Regions from separate parts of the Homo sapiens genome. Here regions 1 and 3 are each linked to region 2. Evidence: promoter capture Hi-C in 16 types of primary human blood cells and fetal thymus (Javierre and others, 2016). All regions are on one chromosome and are shown on one strand. Each heading gives the region's core, a stretch centred on a gene start or on the middle of the fragment in contact. The rest is flanking DNA. Distances are from core to core; before and after follow the strand shown. Region 1 overlaps PIGN (phosphatidylinositol glycan anchor biosynthesis class N). Region 2 holds the start of PMAIP1 (phorbol-12-myristate-13-acetate-induced protein 1). Region 3 overlaps RELCH (RAB11 binding and LisH domain, coiled-coil and HEAT repeat containing).

The links. Contacts are between HindIII fragments. The CHiCAGO score rates a contact against its expected background, and 5 or more counts as called.
Region 1: a contact is called between a fragment that was not itself captured here and the fragment with the promoter of PMAIP1 in region 2, in 1 of 17 cell types (naive CD8 T cells). The highest score is 8.4, in naive CD8 T cells.
Region 3: a contact is called between a fragment that was not itself captured here and the fragment with the promoter of PMAIP1 in region 2, in 1 of 17 cell types (naive CD8 T cells). The highest score is 6.6, in naive CD8 T cells.

The regions. Positions count from the first base shown.
Region 1 is chr18:62,171,811-62,175,839 of GRCh38, forward strand. The region is part of intron 1 of PIGN (phosphatidylinositol glycan anchor biosynthesis class N); the gene reads right to left. Among named protein-coding and RNA genes, the nearest start is that of PIGN, 13 kb to the right of the region's middle. The HindIII fragment of the contact is 2,476 bases long and covers 372-2,847 here.
Region 2 is chr18:59,897,354-59,901,368 of GRCh38, forward strand. It overlaps PMAIP1 (phorbol-12-myristate-13-acetate-induced protein 1), which reads left to right and starts at 2,643. Exons shown (of 2, transcript NM_021127.3): 1 at 2,643-2,882. The coding sequence starts at 2,825. RefSeq lists an enhancer at 1,732-2,483 and silencers at 2,240-2,649, 2,800-3,009. The HindIII fragment of the contact is 10,069 bases long and covers 1-3,731 here.
Region 3 is chr18:62,189,854-62,194,020 of GRCh38, forward strand. The region is part of intron 1 of RELCH (RAB11 binding and LisH domain, coiled-coil and HEAT repeat containing); the gene reads left to right. Among named protein-coding and RNA genes, the nearest start is that of RELCH, 4.7 kb to the left of the region's middle. The HindIII fragment of the contact is 4,209 bases long and covers 1-3,406 here.

The sequences.
Region 1 (4,029 bases), core at 360-2,859, 2.3 Mb after region 2:
CCAGAATAAACCCCACTTAGTCATTAAGTATTATCCTTTCTACATATTGTTGGTCTTAGTTAAAATTTTACCATTTTTTGCAGCAAAGTTTATGAAAGATATAAGACTATAATTTTCTTTTCTTATATCTTTCTGTGGTTTTGGTATCAGACAATGAGTTGGGAAATGCTGTTCCTTCTTGTACTTTTTGGAAGAGTTTGTGTAAAATTTGTATTATTTCTTCCTTTATCGAATAACAAAATTCACCAATGAAACCACTGGCTTGGGGTTTTCTTTGTGACAAGGTTTTCAACCATATATCCAATGTCTTCACATATATAGATACAGATAAACACATATAGATATTCAGGTTATCTATTACTTCTTAAGTAAGCTTTCGTAGTTTTTAAGGAATTTATCCATTTGTCCATTTCATCCTAACTGTCAAATTTATTGACTAAAATTGTCCATAATATTTACCTATTATCCCTTTTTCCTGTCCTGCAGTCCAGGATCCAGTCTAAGGGCAAGTATCACATTAGTTATTCAAAATAAGTCATTTTTCAAGTACTTAATTCCTTTCAGTTAGATCTTAAATTCTATCCAGAGCTAAAGTACATATGGCATATTTAGATTTACAGATGTTCACTTTGATTTAAACACCTCCTCTTTATCATGGAAATAAATCTTAGTACTCTAATATGTACTTACACATATGTACTTAACTTAGTACTCTAATAATGTACTTAACTTATAAGTACATTAAGATGTATTTGTAAATGCAAATGTGCATTTGTAAATGCAAATGTATATTTGTAAATTGTAAATGTAAATGCAAATGTATATTTGCATTTACAAATAACTCCCTGGGCTCATGTTCTTTCTTGTCCCATTTGCCACTGCACTGCTTTGCTAAGTTAAGTATCAAAGTTTATGTGTTAAAAGATAATATAAATTTTCCAAGGTTTACTGAAGTAACAAAACATTTTATTTCAGAACTTTGACCATCTTAAAGTTATAATAGCCAACACAAAAATCTAGTTCTGTTACATAATAAGAGTGGATTCTAGTAAAGCCACTGTTACTGTTTCCTTATCCATAAAAAAAGACACTGTCAGCCCTACTCCATTACAGAAGTATTATGGGAAATAAGTAGACTCCCCAATGACACCATACGAACACAAAATATTAGCAATACTAAAAATAACTAGATTGTGAAGCAACCCAACTCATATTTTTAAAATCAACCTGTAAATAGTTGACTTTACATTATGCTGAAGAAAGCAATAGAAGAGACAAAGATATATTTTCCTGCCAAATTGGTAATTAAGATTGGGACTTCTTATTGGTGATCCAAATCATGCAAATAAACTCTGTAAATAACAAGCATTTTGACAATAACTCTATTCAGCCATTTATTAGGTTACGGTCTACAAAATTTTAAAACGCAACTTGGTGTCTATTCTGTTTATTTATTTTTGAGACAGTAGCCTCACTCTGCCACCCAGGCTGGAGTGCAACAGCACAATTTCCGAGCCTCAGACAATCCTCCCACCTCAGCCTCCCTAGTAGCCGGGACCACAAGGTGTGCCACTACACCTGGCTAATTTTATTTTACTTTTTCTAGAGACTGGGTCTCACTGTGTCACCCAGGCTGGTCTTGAACTCCTGGGCTGAAGCAATCCTCTCACCTCAGCCTCCCAAAAAGTGCTGGGATTACATGTGTAAGCCATTGCACCCAGCCTTGGTGTCTATTTTGGATGCACTTGGAGATCATGTCCTTAGCGGATTCTGGCATTAGGTACATTACTAAAATTACCCAAACTTTGTATTTCTTACCTGTAAAATGCAGATAATACTGATGAACTATAAAAATGGTTGTGAGGATTAGAATAAACGTATGTCAAGTACCTAGCCCAACACTTGGCACTCAGTAAATGATAACACTTCAGTTTTGCTTCACAAAGATAAATTAAACATTATGAAATAAGAATAGTCATATGGTCACTAAATTCTGCCAATTCAACCACCTAATTAATTCTCTCCCTTCATCCTTTCCAATTGGAACACAAGGAAGAGCAACAAATAGGTGGCAAAAGCTAAAAAGCCTTCCATAATTTCACTATTAAAACTGATCATTTCTCGGCCGGGTGCGGTGGCTTACGCCTGTAATCTCAGCACTTTGGGAGGCCAAGGAGGGCAGATCACGAAGTCAAGAGTTCGAGACCAGCCTGACCAATGTGGTGAAACCCCATCTCTACTAAAAATACAAAAATTAGCTGGGCATGGTGGCGGGCACCTGTAATCCCAGCTACTCAGGAGGCTGAGGCAGGAAAATCACTTGAATCTGGGAGGCGGAGTTTACAGTGAACCAAGATCATGCCACTGCACTCCAGCCTGGGCGACAAAGCGAGACTCCAACTCAAAAAAAAAAAAAAACTGATCATTTCTCATCTTCTCATTGTCTGCCTTAGAAACACTTCCATGGTAGCTCCTAGTTCACTGCTGTAATTACTTACTTTTTCAGTTTTACATACCAAATTATATGATCTTTTAGACACACTCCCATTCACTTCTATATTCACAACATTCTTCCACTTGTGACTGACCCATTAATAGCTCCTTAGTAAATGTTTATTGCCTATATGAAGAAATGGCATATTATAAAGCAAAGGCAATTGAGTCAAACTTTGAGTTCACAAAAGAACAAGCTGAAGGCCAGAGACATGAAGTGAGGTCTCAGCTCATACTGTTATTTAATATGCAGCAGTAAAAATCTAATTAGGCGAGATGAATGAGTAAACAATTATAAAGACTTAACTACCATCATAGACACATTTACTTTTAACCATTGCATTATCCAATAGAAGCTTATATTATTCATATTTTCTCTGATCCTATTAAATTCCCAATATTATTAATTAATTAAATCGGTTAAATTAATGCTAATGCATTATTTTTAAAAGTGGTTTAGGTAAGCACAATATTTTTAAAAACATACATAGCAACTAGCTGAACAGAAAAATGAATGTCCTATACAATTACTTAGTTCCTATAAAAATCATGGCTATGAGACAATGAGACCATTTTTAAACTGTCATGCAATTCAATCCCCTCCCCCTCAAAAAAGCTTTTAAGAGGATCTGAAAACAACTCCCCTAATCAAATTAATAAAATTTCTTGATTACAGACTCACAGTGTTCACTACTAAACATGAATGACATAAACATTATATATATTAGATATATATTATAAATATATATTTTTATATATAATAAATATATATATTTAATATATCTAATATATATAATGTTTATGTCATTATATATATAAAACTCAGTGTCCAGTTGAGTTTTGTTTTCAAAGGAACTCGTGTTTTCACTTCTCCACATTCACTGCCATCACCTAAGTCCATTATTTTTCACCTGGACCTCTTCAACAACTTCCAAATGGTTTCCCTACCAAACTGCAGAAAACTACACAATGTAAGTTTCTCCCTTCATCTAAAGTAATTACATATTTTACTCTACAAATTGTAGAACATTTCACTTGTTCACTATACTTCATTCTAATTGTTCTTCAGGAATTTTATACACAGGTACTGACCCCAAAACTCAGATTAAAGGTTAAAACTCTTTAACCCATTCCCCATAAAATTTCCATTTTCTTCCCTTTCAATGTAAATTAGATTACATCTTTTCCCTTCTTAAAGTCTGTGAGTAGCTTTCCATTGTTCCAAGAGTAATATCCTGTGTTCTTCCACTACCTCCGTGGCCCTGCATACCTCTCTCACCTCATTATGGCATCCCACCTTGGGCTCCCAAAGTGCTGGGATTACAGGTGTAAGCCACCACACCCGGCCAAATGCATGTTTCTAATATGTATCCTCAGACTAGAATATAAGCTAGAATGAAGGCAATGACTGTGTTTCTGTTCACTCATGCTCACCACCTAACGGCATAGTGCAGTCACTTTATGATTCATTGGTGGAATGAGTATATATTTGAACTTTATTTATTTTCCCCCAGTTCACTAAAAAGTACAGTTAAT
Region 2 (4,015 bases), core at 1,393-3,892:
CCTCCTCCTTGGCTCAAGCAATCCTCCCACCTCAGCCTCCTGAGTAGCTGACACTACAGCTTATACTTGTATTATCTGCAGAGACAGGGTTTCACCATGTTACCCAGGTTGGTCATCAACTCCTGGACTCAAGCGATCCCCCAGCCTCCACCTCCCACAGTGCTGAGATTACAGGCGTGAGCCACTATGCCTGGCCAATTCTCTTTAGAGAATGTTAGATCTGCCAAAGAGTTTATGGACCATCTCAAATCCTAAATCTTTAAAAGTCCTCTATAAACCAGCTGAATCTGACCCATGTCCAAAACCCACCTCGCCCGACTTCTTTCCGCTCTTTTCCTCCTTGCAAGCTGAATTTGCAATTCCCTAAAAAACAGAGTTGCCTAAGGTTTGTAGCCAGTGTGAGTCACATGACCAATTCTTTTCTAATGAAAATGTTAGAGGATGGGATTAACATACCTTTTATAGGTAAACAATGTTGTGATTCACTTTTTTTTTTTTTTTTTGGTGGTTGTTGAGTATATTCTCTGCATTTCAGGGTGCGTATTTGAACGACAGAAATTTAATAATTTATGCAACCAAAAAGTTAACGGTGTTCCTTATGTATTAGGTAAGTCAAAATGAGCCTGGAGTGGTTTTGAATTACCACTTGGGGATAATAGATTTCAAGGCAGCATCTCCAGTGTGCTTCCTGCGTCTTGTGATGATTCCTAAATTCTGTCCACTTTTACTCGTTTGTATATACCCCATTCAAAAACAGCCAACATCAGCCTCGAAACTATGTTGTTTAAACTCAAGAGCAGTTTTGTTCCATGCTTATATTGTTGTCCATACCTTCAGCAGGACCAAGCCATAAATAAATACTTGCTGGTTTGTGTTGACTGAATGATTTAAGATAAATAAACAACCTCAAATGCCTACTGAGGCCAGATAATGTAAATGGGAAAAGCAAACAGCGGGGAGTGTGGTGAACAGGAGCACCCTAGGTTCCTCTAAAGGGTGTGGCTTCGACCACACTTCAAACCTAGTTTGCACTTTTGGAAAATGGATCCCACGTTGTCAGAGATTCTGGTTTTCCAAGAGATGCTGGAATCTGGGTTTTTCATGCAATCCCTCAATGTTTAAAATGTTGGTAATCAATTCAAATTTTTACAATACATTTTGAAGGCCAATACTGTAAACCAAACTAAGCACTTCTAGGGAGCCCATGCAACGAATTTGCAATCTTTTCATTAAACAGCACAGCTAATATGAAAACACGCTTTTTTTTTCTTTTTCTTTTTTGAGACAGAGTCTTATTCCGTCACCCAGGCTGGAATGCAGTGGCGCGATCTCGGCTCACTGCAACCTCCGCCTCCCAGGTTCAAGCGATTCTCGTGCCTCAGCCGCCCAAGCAACTGGGACGACAGGCGTGCACCACCAAGGCCGGCTAATCTTTTGTATTTCAGTAGAGACGGGGTTTCACCATATTGGCAAGGCTGGTCTCGAACTCCTGGCCTCAAACGAACCACCCGCCTCGGCCTCCCAAAGAGCTGGGATTACAGGCGTGAGCCACCGCGTTCGGCGAAAACACACATTTTCTAAGAAACTGATTGCTGGGAAGGCTACAGTGGGTAAGAGCTCTTGCTCTCTGTGGGCCTGCCTGGTTCGGAATCAGGGCAGTGCTCTCTGCCTAAGTGAACTTGGGCAATTTTCTACAAACCTCAGTTTCTGCACCCGTAAAGTAGCAACGGTTGTTCTGAGGACGGAATGAGAAAATGCATGTCAAAGTCCTTAGCATGAAGCGGCTCTCAGTAACCGTTAACCACTCCTAATTACTCCTCTTCATAATAGTAGAATTACTCATGGCCTCGCCAAACATTATGCAAATAATTTCACGTTCCCAGGTAGCTCAGCCCTCCCACAAAAGATTTGAACGTTTTCCATATGATAACGATCCACTCGTTTTTGCTAAACATCCACAATGGGCGATATCGACCTATCTGGAAGGACACACACAAATCCCTTCCCAACTCAAACACGATGTTCTTTCTGGCTGGCACCAGGGCTTCTGTTTGCAGTGACTTCCTGGGACCCGGAGCTTTCTCACAGGGCCTCTGGCATCTCCTCTGCGGTGATTAAGGTTCTTCTCATTTCCCTTCCCTGTTACTGCCCATACTCTTCAAGTTCGAAAAGTTTCCTTTTCCAATCTCTTTTCTGGGCTTGTTTACCCAAGTCTCTAATTGCCAAGGCCTCTGGTCTCTCCCCACCCACAACGTTCCTCCTGGTTAAACCCTTCCCCTCCCGCCACTCCCAGCTCCCGCCACTCCCAGCTCCCGCCACCACTGCCGCTGACGACGTCCAGCGTTTGCAGATGGTCAAAGCCGACCCCCTTCTCCTCCCACCTCGTTTTGTAAGGAAGTAATTTCGGGGCCGAGCGCTCTGCGCCCCCCGCCGCGGGTCGGCGCCGCCGCGGGTCGGGAGCGTGTCCGGGCAGGTCGCGCTCAGCGGGGTACTTCCCCGCCCGCGTCCCGCGTCCGCTCCCATAACGCCGTCTGCGGGGCGGGGACAGGGGCGGGGACAGGGGCGGGCCGGGCGTCTAGTTTCCCTACGTCACCAGGGAAGTTCTCACTGGACAAAAGCGTGGTCTCTGGCGCGGGGATCTCAGAGTTTCCCGGGCACTCACCGTGTGTAGTTGGCATCTCCGCGCGTCCGGACACCCGATCCCAGCATCCCTGCCTGCAGGACTGTTCGTGTTCAGCTCGCGTCCTGCAGCTGTCCGAGGTGCTCCAGTTGGAGGCTGAGGTTCCCGGGCTCTGTAGCTGAGTGGGCGGCGGCACCGGCGGAGATGCCTGGGAAGAAGGCGCGCAAGAACGCTCAACCGAGCCCCGCGCGGGCTCCAGCAGGTACCGACCCGCTGGGGCCAGCGAAGACCCAGGCCGGGCGGGGTCGGGGCCGGGGTCGAGGTCTCGGCTGGGGCGGGCTCAGCTCGCCGGGGCTCAAGCACAGACTGCACGGGGGTCAAGGTCGGGCCAGGTCTGTGCCCTGGCGCGAGCCTTAGGGGCGCCTCCAGAAAGTTCTTCGGGGTTTTTCCCCAGGACCGGCGGGTACGGCGGGTACGGCGAGGGACCAAGCCGGATTTGCGATTGGGATGCAGCTGCGTTTCACCAGGGGCAAAAAGCTCCTTTCCTCCTCTCTTTCCTCCTCGCCACTTGCCCTTCCCCGGGGCCACGAGGAACAAGTGCAAGTGTAGGCGGCTGTCTCTAGGAGAAAGTCATTGTCGCGGCAGAAGGGGCAGGAGAGAGCCCCGGGGACCGCCTGGACTCCCAGCGCTTCCAGAGACGGCCCCACAAGGGCCCCTGTGTTCAGGAGCCTAGAAAATCTTGTAACATTTAAATAATCGATATTGTGGGAGGTGGGGATAGGAGAATAGGAGTTAGTCCGCTCCTTTTTTTCATTCATTCATTCGCACTCCCCACCCCGATACATACAGCTCCATCGTAAGTTTTCAGGCCAGCGCCCCGGCCCCATGCTTTTTCTAAATCTAAACAGAGAACCCAGTCACTGCCCAGAGCCCGAAGTCTGTGTGGGCCATACTGCTGTTGCATCAGACGATTATACGCCCCCCCCACCTTTTAAGTTACTTTCATTTTATAGAGCTCCTGGGGCGTGCGAAGGAAGTGGTGCATTGCAAATGTGACCATGCCTAAGTTGGTAACAGGCTGCTGTCTCTGGCGCTTGTGTGGGATGGAAAAAGCTTTGTCTACCTTTTGTGATGTCTTAGGATTCTGACCTTGTTTCTTTCTGAAGGATCTTACTTATGCATAGCACTTTCTGGTCCGACTTAATTCCCAAGAACAGGAAGCAGCACAAAGTCCCTCTTAAACTTGATTTGATTGATACTAATACATTTATAGGTGTGTAATGCAATTTTTAAAAAATTAAGGAAATGACCGGGAAGTATTTTCTGCCTTGTTTTCTACATTTTTGGTGAAAGGGATAACTTTTCCACTTAGAATTCAGGGCTTCCAGTGTCGGA
Region 3 (4,167 bases), core at 52-2,551, 2.3 Mb after region 2:
TGATCAAATATCACAATTAAATATTCATGTGCACCTGTGCTTTTCTATTATCCTCATTTATTTGTACCTGTTTTAGGTACTGGATATATAAGTGTTTGTGTTTGTCTCTATGTGTGTGTGTACACATCAAGTTTATTAAATTTTTACTTAATACTAAGCAAATGAACAACAGGACAAAAAATTCAAAATTATCCATAATCCCACCAATGGTATTTGCTTTTCCTGTCTTTAATGGTAGTTGCCTTACCTGTCTTTTCTGTGCATGTGTTTTAAAAAACAAAAAATGGATTAAACTGTTTAACATAGTCTTATACAGGCACTATACTTTTTAGCATCAACTTGGATGTAAAATTTGCATACAGTAAAATTTACACGTTTTAAGTGTGTGCAGTTTGGTGAGTTTTGACAAATCAGTCACTACCACAATTAAAATACAGAACATCGGCAGGGTGCAGTGGCTCACGCCCGTAATCCCAACACTTTGGGAGGATGAGGCAGCCAGATCACGAGGTCAGGATTTCGAGACCAGCCTGGCCAACATGGTGAAACCCCTTCTCTACTAAAAATACAAAAATTAGCTAGGCGTGGTGGTGGGCACCTGTAATCCCAGCTACACGGGAGACTGAGGCAGGAGAATTGCTTGAACCCAGGAGGCAGAGGTTACAGTGAGCCGAGATCCCACCACTGCAGTCCAGCCTGGGCGACAGAGCAAGACTCCATCTCAAAAATAAATAAATAAATAAAAGTAAATAAAATAAAATACAGAACATTTTTATTATCCCCAGAATTCCTTCATTCAATATCCTTACTTCCATCTAGACCACCACTGATCACTTAGAACAGAATTTCTCAACCTGGGCCTGGGTACTTTCAACATTTTGGGCCTGGTAATGCTTTGCCGTGGCTGCTGGCCTGTGTATTATAAAATGTTTAACAGCATCCCTGACCTCTACCCACCAGATGCCTTTAGCAACCACCCCCATACCTATGCCACCCCAGTTATGACCACCAAAAATGTCTCCAGCATTGCCCAGGGAAGGGGAGGGCATAATTGCCCCAGTTGAGAACTACGTCTTTAGATAAGTTTTGCCTGTTCTAAAATTCGATATAAATAGAATCATAGAACGTATTTTTTTGTGTATCTGCCTTCAGCATGTTTTTAAAAGTCATCTATGTCTTTGTGTGTATTTCTAGATCATTCCTTTTTGGTTTTATCCCCAAAAGGGGGGGATAAAAAATTTGTGTCTTTTAAGACATTTGTGTTTTTTCCAGTTTTGTGTTATTGTAAAGAAAGCTCCCATTTACGTCTTTATGAGAAACTGCCAAACTGTTTTCCAAAATGGACCATTTAAAATTTCCACCACCAATGTACAAGAGTTCCAGTTTCTGTACATCTCCTAAACATTTGGTATTTTTGGGCTTTTTAATCTGTCATTTTAGTGAGAATGTAGCAGTGTCTCATTGTGGCTTTAATTTCTATTTCCCTGATGACTAATGATTCTGAGGTCCTTTTCCTGTGCCTTTTGCTTAGTATATTTTTTATGAAATGCCTATTCAATCTTTTGCACCGTTTTTTTCACCTTCAACTTCCAGGGTACATGTGCAGGGTGTGCAGATTGGTGACATAGGTAGACATGTGTCATGGTGGTTTTCTGCACAGATTAACCCATCACCTAGGTATTATGCCCAGCACGCATTAGCTATTTTTCCTGATACTCTCCCCCTCACCCACCATGTCCATGTGTTCTCACTGTTCAGCTCCTACTTATATATGAGAACATACGGTGTTTGGTTTTCTGTTTCTGTGTTAGTTTGCTGAGGATAATGGCTTCCAGCTCCATCTATGTGCCTGCAAAGGACATGATCCTGTTGCTTTTTATGGCTGGCTGCATAGTATTCCATGGTGTGCATGTATCACATTTTCTTTATCCAGTCTTTCATTGATGGGCATTTGGGTTGATTCCCATGTCTTTCCTATTGTGAATAGTGCTGCAATGAAGATACACATGCCTGTATCTTTATAATAGAATGATTTACATTCCTTTGGGCATATACCCAGTAATGGGATTGCTGGGTCAAATGGTATTTCTGGTTCTAGATCTTAGAGGAATCACCACGCTGTCTTCCACAATGGTTTAACTAATTTACAGTCCCAGCAACAGTGTAAAAGTGTTCCTATTTCTCTGCAACCTCTCCAGCATCTGTTGTTTCTTGACTTTTTAATAATCACCATTCTGACTGGCCTAAGATGGTATTTCATTGTGGTTTTGATTTGCATTTCTCTAATGATCAGTGATGTTGAGCCTTTTTTCATATGCTTGTTGCCGCATGAATGTCTTCTTTTGAGAAATGTCCATTCGTGTCCTTTGCCCACTTTTTAATGGGATTGTTTTTTCTTGTAAATTTGTTTAAATTCCTTGTAGACTCTGGATGTTAGACCTTTATCAGATGTATAGGTTGCAAACATTTTCTCCCATTCTGTAGGTTGTCTGTTCACTCTGATAGTTTATTTTGCTGTGCAGAAGCTCTTAAGTTTAATTAGATCCCATTTGCCAATTTTTGCTTTTGTTGCAATTGCTTTTGGCATTTTTGGCATGAAATATTTGCCCGTGCCTATGTCCTGAATGGTATTGCCTAGATTTTCTTCAAGGGTTTTCATAGTTTTGGGTTCTACATTTAAGTCTTTAATCCACCTTGAGTTAATTTTTGTATAAGTTGTAAGGAAGGAGTCCAGTGTCGATTTTCTGCATATGGCTAGCCAGTTCTCCCAGCATTTTATTAAATAAGGAATTCTTTCCCCTTTGCTTGTTTTTGTCATGTATGTCAAAGATCAGATGGTTGTAAGTATCCAGTCTTATTTCTGAATGCTCTCTTCTGTTCTGTTGGTCCGTGTCTGTTTTTGTACCAGTACCATGCTGTTTTGGTTACTGTAACCTTGTAGTATAGTCTGAAGTGAGGTAGCATGATGTCTCCAGCTTTGTTCTTTTTGCTGAGGATTGTCTTGGCTATACGGGCTCTTTTTTGGTTCCATATGAATTTTAAAAGTTTTTTCTAATTCTATGAAGAATGTCAATGGTAGTTAAATGGGAATAGCATTGAATCTATAAATTACTTTGGGCAGTATAGCCATTTTCATGATATTGATTCTTCTTATCCATGAGCATCCATTTATTGTGTTCTCTCTATTTCCTTTAACAGTGGTTTGTAGTTCTCCTTGAAGAGGTGCTTCACTTCCTTTGTTAGCTGCGTTCCTAGGTATTTTATTCTCTTCATAGCATTTATGAATGGGAGTTCATTCATGATTTAGCTCTCTGCTTGTCTGTTGTTGGTGTGTAGGAATCCCTGTGATATTTGCACATTAATTTTGTATCCTGAGACTTTGCTGTAGTTGCCTATCAGCTTAAGAAGCTTTTGGGCTGAGACAGTGGGGTTTTCTAGATACAGGATTGTGTCATCTGCAAAGACAATTTAACTTCCTCGCCTCCTATTTGAATACCCTTTATTTCTTCCTCTTGCATGATCCCTGGCCAGAACTTCCAATACCATGTTGAATAGGAGTGGGGAGAGAGGGCATCCTTGTCTTGTGCCAGTTTTCAAGGGGATTGCTTCCAGCTTTTGCCCATTCAGTATGATATTGGCTGTGGGTTTGTCATATATGGCTCTTATTATTTTGAGGTATGTTCTTTCATTACCTAGTATATTGAGAGTTTTTAACATAAAGGAATGTTGAATTTTATCAAAGGCCTTTTCTGTATCTATTGAGATAATCATGTGGTTTTTGTCTTTAGTTCTGTTTATGTGATGAATTACATTACTGATTTGTGTATGTTGAACCAATCTTGCAACTCAGGGATGAAGCCAACTTGATTGTAGTGAATAAACTTTTTGACGTGCTGCTGGCTTCGATTTGCCAGTATTTTATTGAGGATTTTTGCATTGATGTTCATCAGGGATAGTATTTTGCCCTTTTTTAAATTAAGGTTTTTTACATGTTGGTTTTGTTTCATTATTGAGTTGTAAGAGTTCTCTATATGTGCATTATCAAATGTGAATTTTGCAAATATTTTCTTCCAGTCTGATTTCCCTTTATTTTCTTAATGATGTGTCTCAGACCAGGCGTAGTGGCTCACACCTGTAATCCCAGCACTTTGGGAGGATGAGGTGAGC